Regions from separate parts of the Homo sapiens genome. Here regions 2 and 3 are each linked to region 1. Evidence: promoter capture Hi-C in 16 types of primary human blood cells and fetal thymus (Javierre and others, 2016). All regions are on one chromosome and are shown on one strand. Each heading gives the region's core, a stretch centred on a gene start or on the middle of the fragment in contact. The rest is flanking DNA. Distances are from core to core; before and after follow the strand shown. Region 1 holds the start of TBC1D15 (TBC1 domain family member 15). Region 2 holds the start of LEMD3 (LEM domain containing 3). Region 3 holds the start of TMBIM4 (transmembrane BAX inhibitor motif containing 4).

What was found. The method cuts DNA at HindIII sites, captures the fragments that hold promoters and counts their contacts. A CHiCAGO score of 5 or more calls a contact.
Region 2: a contact is called between a fragment that was not itself captured here and the fragment with the promoter of TBC1D15 in region 1, in 2 of 17 cell types (naive CD8 T cells and total CD4 T cells). The highest score is 7.0, in naive CD8 T cells.
Region 3: the fragment with the promoter of TMBIM4 here is called in contact with the fragment with the promoter of TBC1D15 in region 1 in 3 of 17 cell types (total CD4 T cells, naive CD8 T cells and naive CD4 T cells); the score reaches 11.8 in total CD4 T cells.

Annotation. Positions count from the first base shown.
Region 1 is chr12:71,837,734-71,841,715 of GRCh38, reverse strand. It overlaps TBC1D15 (TBC1 domain family member 15), which reads right to left and starts at 1,957. Exons shown (of 17, transcript NM_001146213.3): 1 at 1,905-1,957. The coding sequence starts at 1,934. The HindIII fragment of the contact is 6,842 bases long and covers 1-3,442 here.
Region 2 is chr12:65,169,531-65,173,512 of GRCh38, reverse strand. LEMD3 (LEM domain containing 3) reads right to left here and starts at 3,930. Exons shown (of 13, transcript NM_014319.5): 1 at 2,395-3,930. The coding sequence starts at 3,916. RefSeq lists enhancers at 2,773-2,852, 3,763-3,912, 3,595-3,982 and silencers at 2,846-3,049, 3,433-3,642. The HindIII fragment of the contact is 787 bases long and covers 1,358-2,144 here.
Region 3 is chr12:66,168,190-66,172,171 of GRCh38, reverse strand. TMBIM4 (transmembrane BAX inhibitor motif containing 4) reads left to right here and starts at 2,176. Exons shown (of 7, transcript NM_016056.4): 1 at 2,176-2,317. The coding sequence starts at 2,221. RefSeq lists enhancers at 2,195-2,274, 1,918-2,442, 2,925-3,024. The HindIII fragment of the contact is 2,376 bases long and covers 501-2,876 here.

The sequences.
Region 1 (3,982 bases), core at 708-3,207:
TCAGCCAAGAAATCAAGAATAGAAGCAGACTAAAAGCCTGAACTATGCGCTGATAGTAAAGAAGATGCAGTAAATTTAAGAAACCTCTTAAGGTAAAACTGGTAGGACATGGTTATTGATTAGAGAGTGTTATAGGAATGAATGCCTCCAAGTATGTTTAACATGCAACCAGGTGAAAGATGATGCCATTAAACCAGATCTGAACTTACTGAGAGAAGAACAAGTGGGTTTTGTTGGTCATGATAGTATTACTTGGGAGAGGAGCAGCTTTTGGCATGGAAAACTAGTTTCAGTGGAGTGATGGCAATAGATGTGAATTTGCAGTGAATGAGAATAAATGAGGTTATGAAGCAGAATTACTAAATATAAGTCTCACTTTAAGAAGTCAGACTATGAAAGGTAGTGGCTGCAAAGAGTGAAAAATGTTTTTCATTTCACAACTCTGCTTCATTGCCTCAAGGATTCTTTCAAAATCAATCCAAACCTGAAAGAGGGAGATGTTTAAACGGAAGGGATCCCCTCTTGAAAAGTCCCAGCCTGGATCAGTTTAGATGGAAAATCAAACAGGATAATCTTCAAATACGCAGTAAGTCAAGCAGTATATCAGCATCCACCCTGAATATAAAAAGAAAAAAACTGACAAGACAACCAAGGAGCACGAATAATCCAAAAAAGGATGCCCACCTATCCTTTAAAAGAGCCAGTAGGTACAAGTGTGTAATTTTATGTTTTTTTAAAAAAAAATTTATATAACCCTAACAACTCCAATACAAGAAATAATGATTGGCATCTCCTCCATTCTACAGATAAAGAACGCGAAAAGACAAAAGTCACAATTGCCCAATTTTCCAAGGTCATACTTCAGATTAACAGCAAAACCAAGCCCATATTTGTCATTCAGCCGCCTAGTCTAATACTCCAAACACCAAACCACAAACGCTGTCAAATAATTCAAAATGGGGTAGGGAAAGCAACAGGGAGACATGAGTGAAACTCAAGGAACAGAGGACGCTATCTGCAATGAGTAAACAACCATTAGTGTTCGATGAGTCACTTCAGTTGATTCCAGCTGTTTATGAAATACTCCTGCACTGGGAAATACTATCGGTGGCATATCATAAAGCTGATAGCCCTAACTATGCATAAGATGTGCCCTCGGAACGCGAATAGGCACTATTCGACGAAATCTCCGCACGTAATTCTAGTTTCCAACGAAATTAGGCGTGTCACTGACCACCTCCGTAAACCAGCATGACCAATACTCCTACTGAAATGCCTAGGAAATAAATATTTGGACGCCTTCCTAGACAAGCACAGGATGGTGTAAATCTCCATTTCTCTCAGGAAACACGTCCTGCTGCTCACAACCACCAACCAACTCAGCAGCTTGGTAAAAACAGACCCAATACACTCGTTTCTTCTAAGCGCACAGCTAGCTGCCTAGCATCTATTCAGCTCCTCCCGAAGGAAGCATAAACATCTTCACCAAACTGTAGCAAAGAAGACAGAGGCAAGTCGGGTTAACGCTTCAAAGAGAGAAAAGACGCTGGAGTCAGAAGAGTAGACATAAAGAACTAGAGTCAAGAAACAGTGAATCGGGGGAAAAAAGGAACTAGAGAGCCACCTGTCCCTTAGTAAAGGTAATACGAATAAAAGCCTCTCTGCTCTGGGGCAGAAGAGCGCCGAGGCCTAGCTGGCCTTGGAGCAGTAGCCGGCTCTATAACTCCGCGGCTGAACTGGCATTCTCGGGAAACCAGCTGGTACCACCCAGTCTTCTCCTACAGACGCCACGGGTTGTCCGGACACAGAAAGTCCCTCGTGTCCCTCCCCCAACCAGCTGCCAGGGAGCAAAAGCATCCCCGTCCCAGAGAAAAGCCGAGGTCTTCCTGGAGGCCGTTACCTACCTTCCCGCTCACAACACCCGCCGCCGCCATGTTTCCTGCGCGTGCCTGGTAATGACGTAGCAGAACCTCACGTGTCTCTCGGACATACAACAACATCCGGCAAAACTAGAATAACATCCGGGCGGGAAAAGGGCGGGGAGTGGCGGGAAGGGAGTGGAGGAAAGGAGCCGGGCGGAAAAAAGCCGCCTGACGCGTGCGTGCTGAACTGGGCTCAGAGACGGCTGGGGTGGAGTCTCAGGCCTAACGCTACGCTTGTGCTTGCCCCACGTCCTCCCCAAGGAAGACTGCTAAAATAATGTGTACCTTACTTGTATTGGAGTTTGTCGAGACTCTGAAGCTAGCGCAGGCCACGCCAGTTTGGTGAGATGAAACGAATACCATACTGGAAGCCAGCAAGATTTGTCCTGGTTTTTTGTTGTTGTTGTAGAAAAGGAGTCTCGCTCTGTCGCTCAGGCTGGAGTGCAGTGGCGCGATCTCGGCTCATTGCAGCCTCCGCCACTCGGTTCAAGCGATTCTCAAGCCTCAGCCTCCCGGGTAGCTGGGATTACAGGCGCGCGTCAAACGCCCAGCTAATTTTTAAATTTTTATTAGAGACGAGATTTCGCCAATGTTGCCCAGGCTGGTCTCGAACTCCTGACTTCAGGTGATCCGTCCGCTTCAGCCTTTGCCCAGAGAGCTGGGATTACAGGCTTGAGCCACCGCGCCCAGCCCATTAGCCTGGTTTTGTGGCAGTAGGCAAATCACCAGTGCACTCGAAACCTCAGTTTCTTATAGTAAAATCAAGATAGTGGCGTTGCGGTGAAGATCCAAGAAAGAGCAGCACTAACATGGAGATATCCCAGGCACTATACATGGAGACTTTTCCCCTCTGTATATGAGGTTTCTCTATTTGTCTGGTCACTGCCACTCACACATGACCTCCAGCAAGGTATTTCGATAGGAACTGTGATAATACCACGCCCTCATAGCTGCAGAGCCCAAGGCACATAGTTTATAGCACCTACACATTACTTATTAGCTCTGTGACTTAAAGCAGGTTTCTAAATTTATCAGAGCTTCAGGATGTAAACTGGGAATTACTCCTGCATGGAGTGGTTGTAGGGATTTCATACGACAATACATGTGTGGTAAAATGATTTGTAAAGATACTAAGGTAAGAATTTTACTTGTTCTCAGTGCTGTAAAAGAATGCAGAGAATGATTATATACTACCCCCTTGATAACTCTGGCACAGATCTGGGATTTCCCTAGCTCCGGGGCAGAATAAAAAGTCCCTTTCACCAAAAACACTTGTGTCCATTGAGGTACTTCCGTCTTCACACAGTGGAGAGGGGTTAGAGGCTTTTGAGTTTGGTTGAGGTAGGTGGCAACTAGCTGAACGACAGAAAAGGAGAGTTGCCGGTTATGTGACTACCAGGAACCTAATAGGTGAGGAAAGTGGTGGAACCTTAGGTGGGAATGAATGCGTAGCATATTAGGGAGATTGCGTGCTAGGTATCTGAGATTCCAACCATGACCAAGACCCTTATGCCCAAGCTTGGCAGGGAATCAAGAAAGCAGCTCACCTACAAGGGATGAATGAGGTGGGAAAATGAGAATATTAGCAGTAATCAGCATTGAGTGAAGACTAGAGGGCCTTTTCCAAATGTACTGGACTGAGACTAAGACCCCTAGAACCTTCATATAATCTTGGGTGTGGAGTGGAAAATCCTACTGATGACCCAAATTACATTTTCCACCAGCTCAGAGCATTGGGATGTGGTTAGAGAAAAATTTTAATGTGACATCACATTTCTTACACCCTGTGTTTTAGAGAAAATTTGAAGCCCTTAGCACAGTGCCAGGAATAAAAGGCTCAATAAATGTAGTTATTACTTATATTTTAAAATATAAGTTTGAGAACTACAGGCTTCTCATTGAAAAGCATCATTGGCATCTCAGGTTCATCTGCTACTTCTTGACCTTCTTAAATTTCATCCTACAAGTGTGCCTTAAATAATGGCGCTACCCATGGGCTGGCCTTGGGCCTCTCTTCCTTTTTCTCCAAACACTATTCCTGGGCCGTTATCCTCATATTC
Region 2 (3,982 bases), core at 502-3,001, 6.7 Mb after region 1:
GACCACAGTCATTCAGACAAGTCCTAGAACCTAGATCCTCTACTTCTTAGCCATTGTTCTTTCCAACGCCCAGATTACTTCACATTTACCATTTACTAAAATGTAAATATAATTTCCTTCCTTCCTTATCAGTGAAGGTGAAGAGTACCAAAATCCTAGCATTCCTATCCTATTCTACCTGAACTTTTAGTACACCACATTAGTCATTCATCTTAACACTGATGAGAAAGATGTGAAAGTCACCTTAACTGAGAATTGTGCTTATCAATAATTCTGTATGAAATCCTACCAAATAGTCAATTACTTTCTTAATCATAATAAAGGTACCCACTTATTTAGAAAGCTCTCTACAAACAATAACCAAAACAGTGTTAAAATGGTCTTTCTAGTTGGAAATAAAATCTGAAACCAAATCTTAGCCCTACTACTAACTGTTCAACACTCAGTGCATTTCTTAACTTAGTATCATCCTCATCCAAAAATGAGGATACCACCACCTGCTTCTGTGAGTTGCTGGGAAGATTAGATGGTACAATAGGTGTAAAGCAATTAGCTCTTAGAAAATGGCCAGATCTGCTAACATGGTGAAACCCTGTCTCTACTAAAAATACAAAAAAAATTTAGCCAGGTGTGGCGGCACGCGCATGTAGTCCCAGCTACTTGGGAGGCTGAGGCAGGAGAATCACTTGAACCCAGGAGGCGGAGGTTGCAGTGACCAGAGATTGTGCCACTGCACTCCAGCCTAGCGACAGAGCTAGACTCTGTCTAAAAAAAAAAAAAAAGAAAAGAAAAAGGCCAGATCTTATAGTTGTTAGAGACACAGATGCAGATAGCTACTGCTGATAGGTAATGTCATTTAATTTATGTGAACTTTTACTTGTTTAACTTCTAGTGTGCCCTTATTTTTTTTCTCCCAAATATTTGGGGCAGGACACAATACACTCATGCTCCCAGGGAATAAACTAAAGTGAGAGCTGAATTTCATTCTTGTTTCAACCCCTGTAATTAAGCAACAGAGTAAAAATCTATTATTTGACTGTCTCGGAATTGGCTATATCTAAATCTAAGCTTACATTATTTTGACTCCTACTCTTTATCTGAGTTGGCTAACTGCATCTTTCACTCTATTTTGAAATAAAACTAATAAGCCAATTTTATAAATACAAATAAAAATACAGTGAATTCATCTTGGGTGAAAAGAGTAGGAAGCCTTCAGGGAGAATGCAGAGAGGGACCTAACACTGAGAAATTATGTATTCAGAAGTCCATTTTGTCCTAATTTACTTTCTCTTTTAATCTTCACAAACATTCTAGTCAATAGAGGCCTCATCTTATAGATTAGGAAAGTTCAGAAGCTTTAACTCTGACTCTCTCCCCTTTGCTCAAGGTGCTTAACCACTCTAACCTACAAGAAGGCTCTTGCTCAACTCAAGGCCTTAATCTCTGCTCAGAATGGTCTACTGTTTCTCCACAAGGCTGTCTCCTTCTGCTTCAGGTCTCACCTCAAATAGTACCTCCTCCGTTCAATCTAAAGTAGTGTACACCTACGTCAGTGTAGTCTGGTAAATTTTTTTAAAAAAGGAAAAAAAATAAAGTTGTGTACGCCAATTACTCATCTTTATTTCCTTCAGAGAACACAAAATGGTCTGTATTCATCTTCTTTTTGTGTTTAAGGGCAGAGATACTTTGATTATGACAATGAACACACCTGCCTACAGTCATTTAGCAAGTAAATAGTAGGACCTGGAAACCAATCCAAGGAAATCTGACTGCAAGCTCCTGCACTGCCCTACCACTACTTTTTGTACAGATGATAGGGAAAGTGCTTTGGGCTGGGAAATAAATTAAGAGGTGTGCCTTGCTGCTTTTTTATATTCATTCACTATAAAGAAATTATACATACAGTTAATACCACAAAATATTTAATCCGAATTTATGCATACAGTTAATATTATAAAATAATTCGAATTTCAAGAGCTATTACATTGCCTATTAGAATCACAACTCAATTTGGAAAAACACTACATTTATAATGTGCCTTATCCTAATACTTCAAATTTGTTAAGTAACTGGCATCTGCGCAAATAGTCTTTCAGGGCTAAAAGAGAATTGTCACATATACAAATGAGTTTTACTAACAAGCTTATAATATTCTTTTAAAAATTGTTTTGAATTTCACAATACATCATGCAGAAAACTTTTAAAACCAGCCATATGACATCATTTCGATAATGGTGTTCTTTAAGAAAGATGACACATGCACGCACTGTTGCGTTTTTGCTGTTAAACCATATTCTTGCAGGTAAGTCACTTCATGTAAAACGCTAAGCGCGGCTAAAGCGGACCACTAACAACATTCTCTTTGTTACCTTACCCACAGGATTTAATACTTACTGCTGAGTTCTCCATCCTCAGATACTCCTGTCCCTCTCATTCCTAGGTAAGTCAGTCCCAGTATTAGGAAAAATAAGCAGGCAGCAGTTAAGAGAAACATCGACAAGTAGTGGGCACTGAAACTCCCTGTTGGGGACACCTCCTCCCGTTTAAATTGCTGGAGAAGTTCCTCTTCGGGTTCGGAAAGCTTCGGTTTGTTGTATGTGTTTTTCAGGTAGGTATGATTGGAGCCCGTATGATTGGCGTGATTGATCCTGAGTGAACTAGAGGCGGCCACCGCCGCACTGGGAGGGAGACTGTTAGAATAAATCCTGGGGGAGTCCACACTGAAGGCCCCACCGCCAATATGATTATTGGTTTTCAGAAGGGAGCCTGTTGACGAATCCAAGGTTGAGTCCATGTCAGTAAGTGGCGGGGGCAGGAGAGGGGTCAGTTTCTTAGCGTTAACACGGTATCTAGGAACGGGGCTGGAGTCCACTTGATCACACCCTCCTCCCTGCTCCGCGGCCGCCGCCTCTTCGAGGTTTCGGCTCCTGTCTAGACTCCCGGCAGCCGCCGCCCTGTCATTCATCGCGAGTCCTCCCCCTCCCTGAACTGAAGTCTCCAGCCTGCCGCCGGCCGATTTAGCAGTCAGCGGGGGGAGAGGCTTACTATGGGTTCGTCTGGGCCGATGCCGGGAAAGGGAGTCGTCCTTTAATACCTGTCTGCTGGAGGCCACGTCGTCGTCGTCCTCTTCCTCTGAGTCCGAATAGTTTTCCCGGCAGCTGTAGGGGACAAGCCGGCTGCCATTCACGGTCCGGCTCGCCCAGAGCGGCTCCTCGGTCTCCGGGTCCCTCTCCTCACCGTCCTCTCCCTCCCCTTCCTCGTCCTCCACTGCTCCATCTTTCCCCGGCGGGGTCTGCAGCTCGGGGCCCGCCGGCCTCCTGGCCCCCCACCACGAGTGGGGCTTCCTTCGCTCTGCAGAGTTGCTGTTAGTCACCTCGCTGGCGGCCAGGGGCGCCGGCGGCGCTTTGAGCCCGCGGTACTGGAGCGAAGCCCGGTCTTTCCTCCCGCCGCCGCCGGCCTGGTCCCGGGGACTGGCCTCCACGTCCGACTCGTCCGAGCTGAAGCCCAGCAGCACTTTGCTGCCAGCCGCGGGGGCGGCGGAGGCGCCCCCGGGCCCTCCCAGGAGGCTCTCTGGGCCAGAGGCCGAGATTCGGCACAGGCCCCCAGGAGTCCGTAAGTAGGAGAGGTCGCCCGAGACCGGCCGGACCCCCATCCCCGCGGCCGCCGCCGCCGCTGGTCCCGCGGCTGCGACCGTGGCGGCTGCCGTGTTATTGTTATTACTGTTCCGCGTCTTGTTGCCGCGGCCCCCTGACCGGTGCTGTTGCTGCTCTTCCTCTCGAAGCTTCTTCAGCTTCTTGAGGTAGACCGGGCGGGTGCTCTCCGTCACTGGTCCGGGAGACAGGCCGTAACGGCGGAGCTGAGAGAAAAGCTCCTCATCCGAGAGCTGCTGAGGCGCCGAAGCTGCTGCCGCCGCCATTTTCTCTCCAGGGTGTTTTACAAGCTCCGCGCTACCGGAAGTGACGCGCCGCCCTAGACCCTGAAC
Region 3 (3,982 bases), core at 927-3,426, 5.7 Mb after region 1:
AGGAGCCTTAGGTAGGTTATATGTATAGCAGATATCTTCCCCTACTCTATGGCTTCCTTTTCACTCTCTTATGGTATATTTTGATTACTAGAAATTCCTAATTTTAATATAATTTAATTTGGCAATCTTTTCATTTGAAGTTAAGTGCTATTTTGTATCTGGTTTCAGAAATCTTTGCCTTCCTCCAAATCATATTCTCCTGTATCATTTTCTTTAAGTTTTATTGTTTTTGCCTTTCACATTTATATCCACAATCTATCTGGAATTTATTTTTTTTTGTAACTGGTAAGAGGTAAAGGATCAAACTTTGCTGATGCTGTTTTTAGTCAATACAAAGGTGGGTTCCCAATTTAGCTCCAGTTTGTCCTCTATAATAAATTCCATTATTACGGCGGGGCAGAGAAAGAGGGGATGGCTTCGGGTTAGGATGGGAGAGAAAACGGATTACATTCCCAGTGTCATCTGAAGTAAAACTTTTCTCAGATTTTTCTCAGCAAGCTTTTTAAGTCCTCTCACCTGGAGAGTGACTAAAGAGATAGAGGCCATATCCCATTCACCTATCCATTCAACAAACTAAACTAAAACGAGGGGCCGGACACAGTGGCTAACGCCTGTGATCTCAGCACTTTGGGAGGTCGAGGTAGGGGGATCACTTGAGCCCAAGTTCGAGACCAGCATGGGCAACATGGCGAAATTCCGTCACTACAAAAAATACAAAAAATTACCCGGGGGTGGTCACCTGACCTCAGGAGGTCAAGGCTGCTGTGAGCCGAGATAGAGCCACCGCACTCCAGCCTGGGTGACAGACTGAGACTCTATCTCAAAACAAACCAACAAAAACAAATTAAAATGATATGCTTGTAAAATGTTTGTAAAATCATAAAAGATAAAGTGTTTTTTTGTTTTGTTTTGTTTTTCTTGTCATTGTGGAAGTGACGTTAGTTCTTTTGGCAAAGGCTTCTGAGAACATCAAGTTTAAGGATTTAGTTTAGAATAGACTGTTCCACAACTGTTCTGAATTCCACTTGCTAAGTGTTCGGGTGTTGTGGTTAAGGTGAGGACTGGGCAATGTGGGTAGATCAGAGTAAACTCATCAAAACAATTCCAAGGGACCCTAGGATGACACTACTCTGGGTATGTCTACACCTCTTTATATTGGAATGACAACAATATCATGAATATTCACTCTAATCCATTGTATTTGCCACCATCATCTCTCTCTTACAGTAATACAACTTTATCCCCTTTTCTCTGCCTTTGGTAATGGCCCTCTTCAATGTATTCTACTTCTGGCCTAGGATGATCTGGCCTTTGTTTATCTATCCAGCCTCATTCTTTGCCACCTGTCCCCTACACCAGCTGAGCTTCACCGTCTCCCTCTTTGCAGACGTTGGTCCCTTGAGGCCCAGCCTACATCACTGCTCTTTCTCTGGTTGGCTCCTACTTGCCTTTCAGGATTAAATATTACTTCATTCAGAAAGCCTGGTTTATAGAAAGTGCTCAATAAATGTAGGTATTATTATTATTTTAAAATAATAGAAGTAAAAATGCATCCTCGGTGTGATTATTGAAAAAGTGGATGAATGAGATGGGTATTTGTTGAGTGGATGGGTGACTGGGACATGGGTTCTATCACTTTAGCAACTCTCCAAGGTGAAAGGACTTAAAGTGTGTTCAGGCTGGGCGCGGTGGCTCACGCCTGTAATCTCAGCACTTTGGGAGGCCGAGGCGGGCGGATCACGAGGTCAGCAGATCGAGACCATCCTGGCTAACATGGTGAAACCTCGTCTCTGCTAAAAATATAAAAAAATTAGCCTGGCGTGGTGGCAGGCGCCTGTAATCTCAGCTATTCGGGAGGCTGAGGCAGGAGAACCGCTTGAACCCGGGAGGCGGAGGTTGCGGTGAGCCGAGATCGTGCCATTGCACTCCAGCCTGGGCAACAAGAGTGAAACTCCATCTCAAAAAAAAAAAAAAAAGTGTGTTGAGAAAAGTTTCACTTCAGATGACGCCGGGAATGTAAACCGTTTTCTCTTCCATTCTAACTCGGAGCCATCCCCGCTTTCTCCGCCCAGCTGGAATTTTTGAAGCGAGAAAATCGACTCGCTCGGTGTTCGCCCGCCGACGCCGCACGGCTTGCTGGGGCTGGGCTCTTCCTCGCGGAAGTGGGGAGGAGGCGGTTGCGGTTAGTGGACCGGGACCGGTAGGGGTGCTGTTGCCATCATGGCTGACCCCGACCCCCGGTACCCTCGCTCCTCGATCGAGGACGACTTCAACTATGGCAGCAGCGTGGCCTCCGCCACCGTGCACATCCGAATGGGTACGTTGTCCCCTCTCCAGTGCCTCCCAGCCGCTTGTCTGCACTGCTCGGCCTCTAGAAGCCGACTTCCGGCTTCCGAGGGAGAGCGGCCATCTCCTGGGACTCACAGGGAGTGCTCACTGAGCTCCCGGCCCTCCTTCTCCGGGTACCAGAGGACTGGCGCCCTCCTCAGGGAGTCGGGGAGGCGCTTCCTCCCCTCCTAGCGGGTGTGGGAGGGCGCCAGGCCCAGAAGGCTTGCGGCTGTCCTGTGTGCGCCCCGGCTCCCCAGCGGGCGCCGCGGTGTAGGAAGGGACAGATGGAAACCGCCGCAGCCTGAATTTGGCATCTTGAAGTGAAAAGAAACGTCGTGGAAATGAGTCGGTTGATCACTGTGACTGACGTACACACGAGTGGAATCCACGGCCTGATGTTTTTGTTCTGTGGGGTTTCGCGTTACAGGCTTATATTTACCGTCCTGTGCTAGGCTGGAAGCTCCCTGACGGCACTATTTCCTCTCCGCAGGGCCCAGAATGCAACAGGTCTTTGAGGATTATTGAGGAAGTTGCTCAACACAGAAGCTTCCTAAGTCAGTCTAAATTGTGTTTTAAGTTATTACGTAGTAGCCAATGGGCAGAAATTTTTGAATTTAAAATGCTCAGCTTCATCTACGTGGAAGCCATTGCCTGCTCTAGTTTGGTCATTTGATCGCCGAAACAGCCCCAGACTTTCAGCCTGTTTAGGCAGCTGGAACTTGTTCTGGAAAAGGAAAGATGAAGATAGTTCTGATGTGCTAAGAATCTTAGTGCCTAGAACTTGTTCTGGAAAAGGAAAGATGAAGATAGTTCTGATGCACCAAGAATCTTGGTGCCTAGCATTTATATTTTTGGAATTGAATTTTGAAATTATTTTGGCCAGTGAACTCAGCTTTTTTTTAAAAAAAATTAATTGTGGTAAAATACAGGTAACATAAAATTTACCGTCTTAACTATTTTTAAGTGTATAGTTCAGTAGTGTTAAGTTATTCACATGGTTGTGCACTGTTAAAAGAAAAACTTTAGACACATTAAATCTAACGGAGTTTGAGCACAGAATGATTTGCGAATTGGGCAGGTCCCGGAACCAGAATAAGGTTCAGAGTGATGAGTCCTGCCGCTTGGTGGGAGAAAATTTATGGAGAGAGAAAGTAAAGTGAGGTACAGAAAATAGAAGTGAGGTACAGAAAGAGTTGATTGGTTACAGCTTGGTTTTTGCCCGTTTGAACATGGTTTGAACACGTGGCCATCTTTGGCTGAAACTCAGTGATTGGTTCAAGCGTAGGTTACAGCCTGTTTACTAGGTTATAGTTCACTATATACCGAGAACCCCTAGGCTGAACTTAAAATATCTAAAGGCATAGCTTTAGACTAAACTTATATACCATCCAATATCCAGAACTTTTTAATCTTGCAAAACTGAAACTCTATACCTATTAACTCCCCATTCCTTCCTTCCCCCAGTCCCTGGAACCACCATTTCACTTTCTCTCTCTGTGAATTTGGCTACTCTAGATACAATCAGTATTTGTTTTTTTGTGGTTGGCTTTTTTCAATTAGCATAATGTCTTCAAATACATCCATGTTGTGGCATATGTCAGAATTTCCTTTTTTTTTTTTTTTGAGACAGGGTCTCGCTTTGCCACCGAGGCTG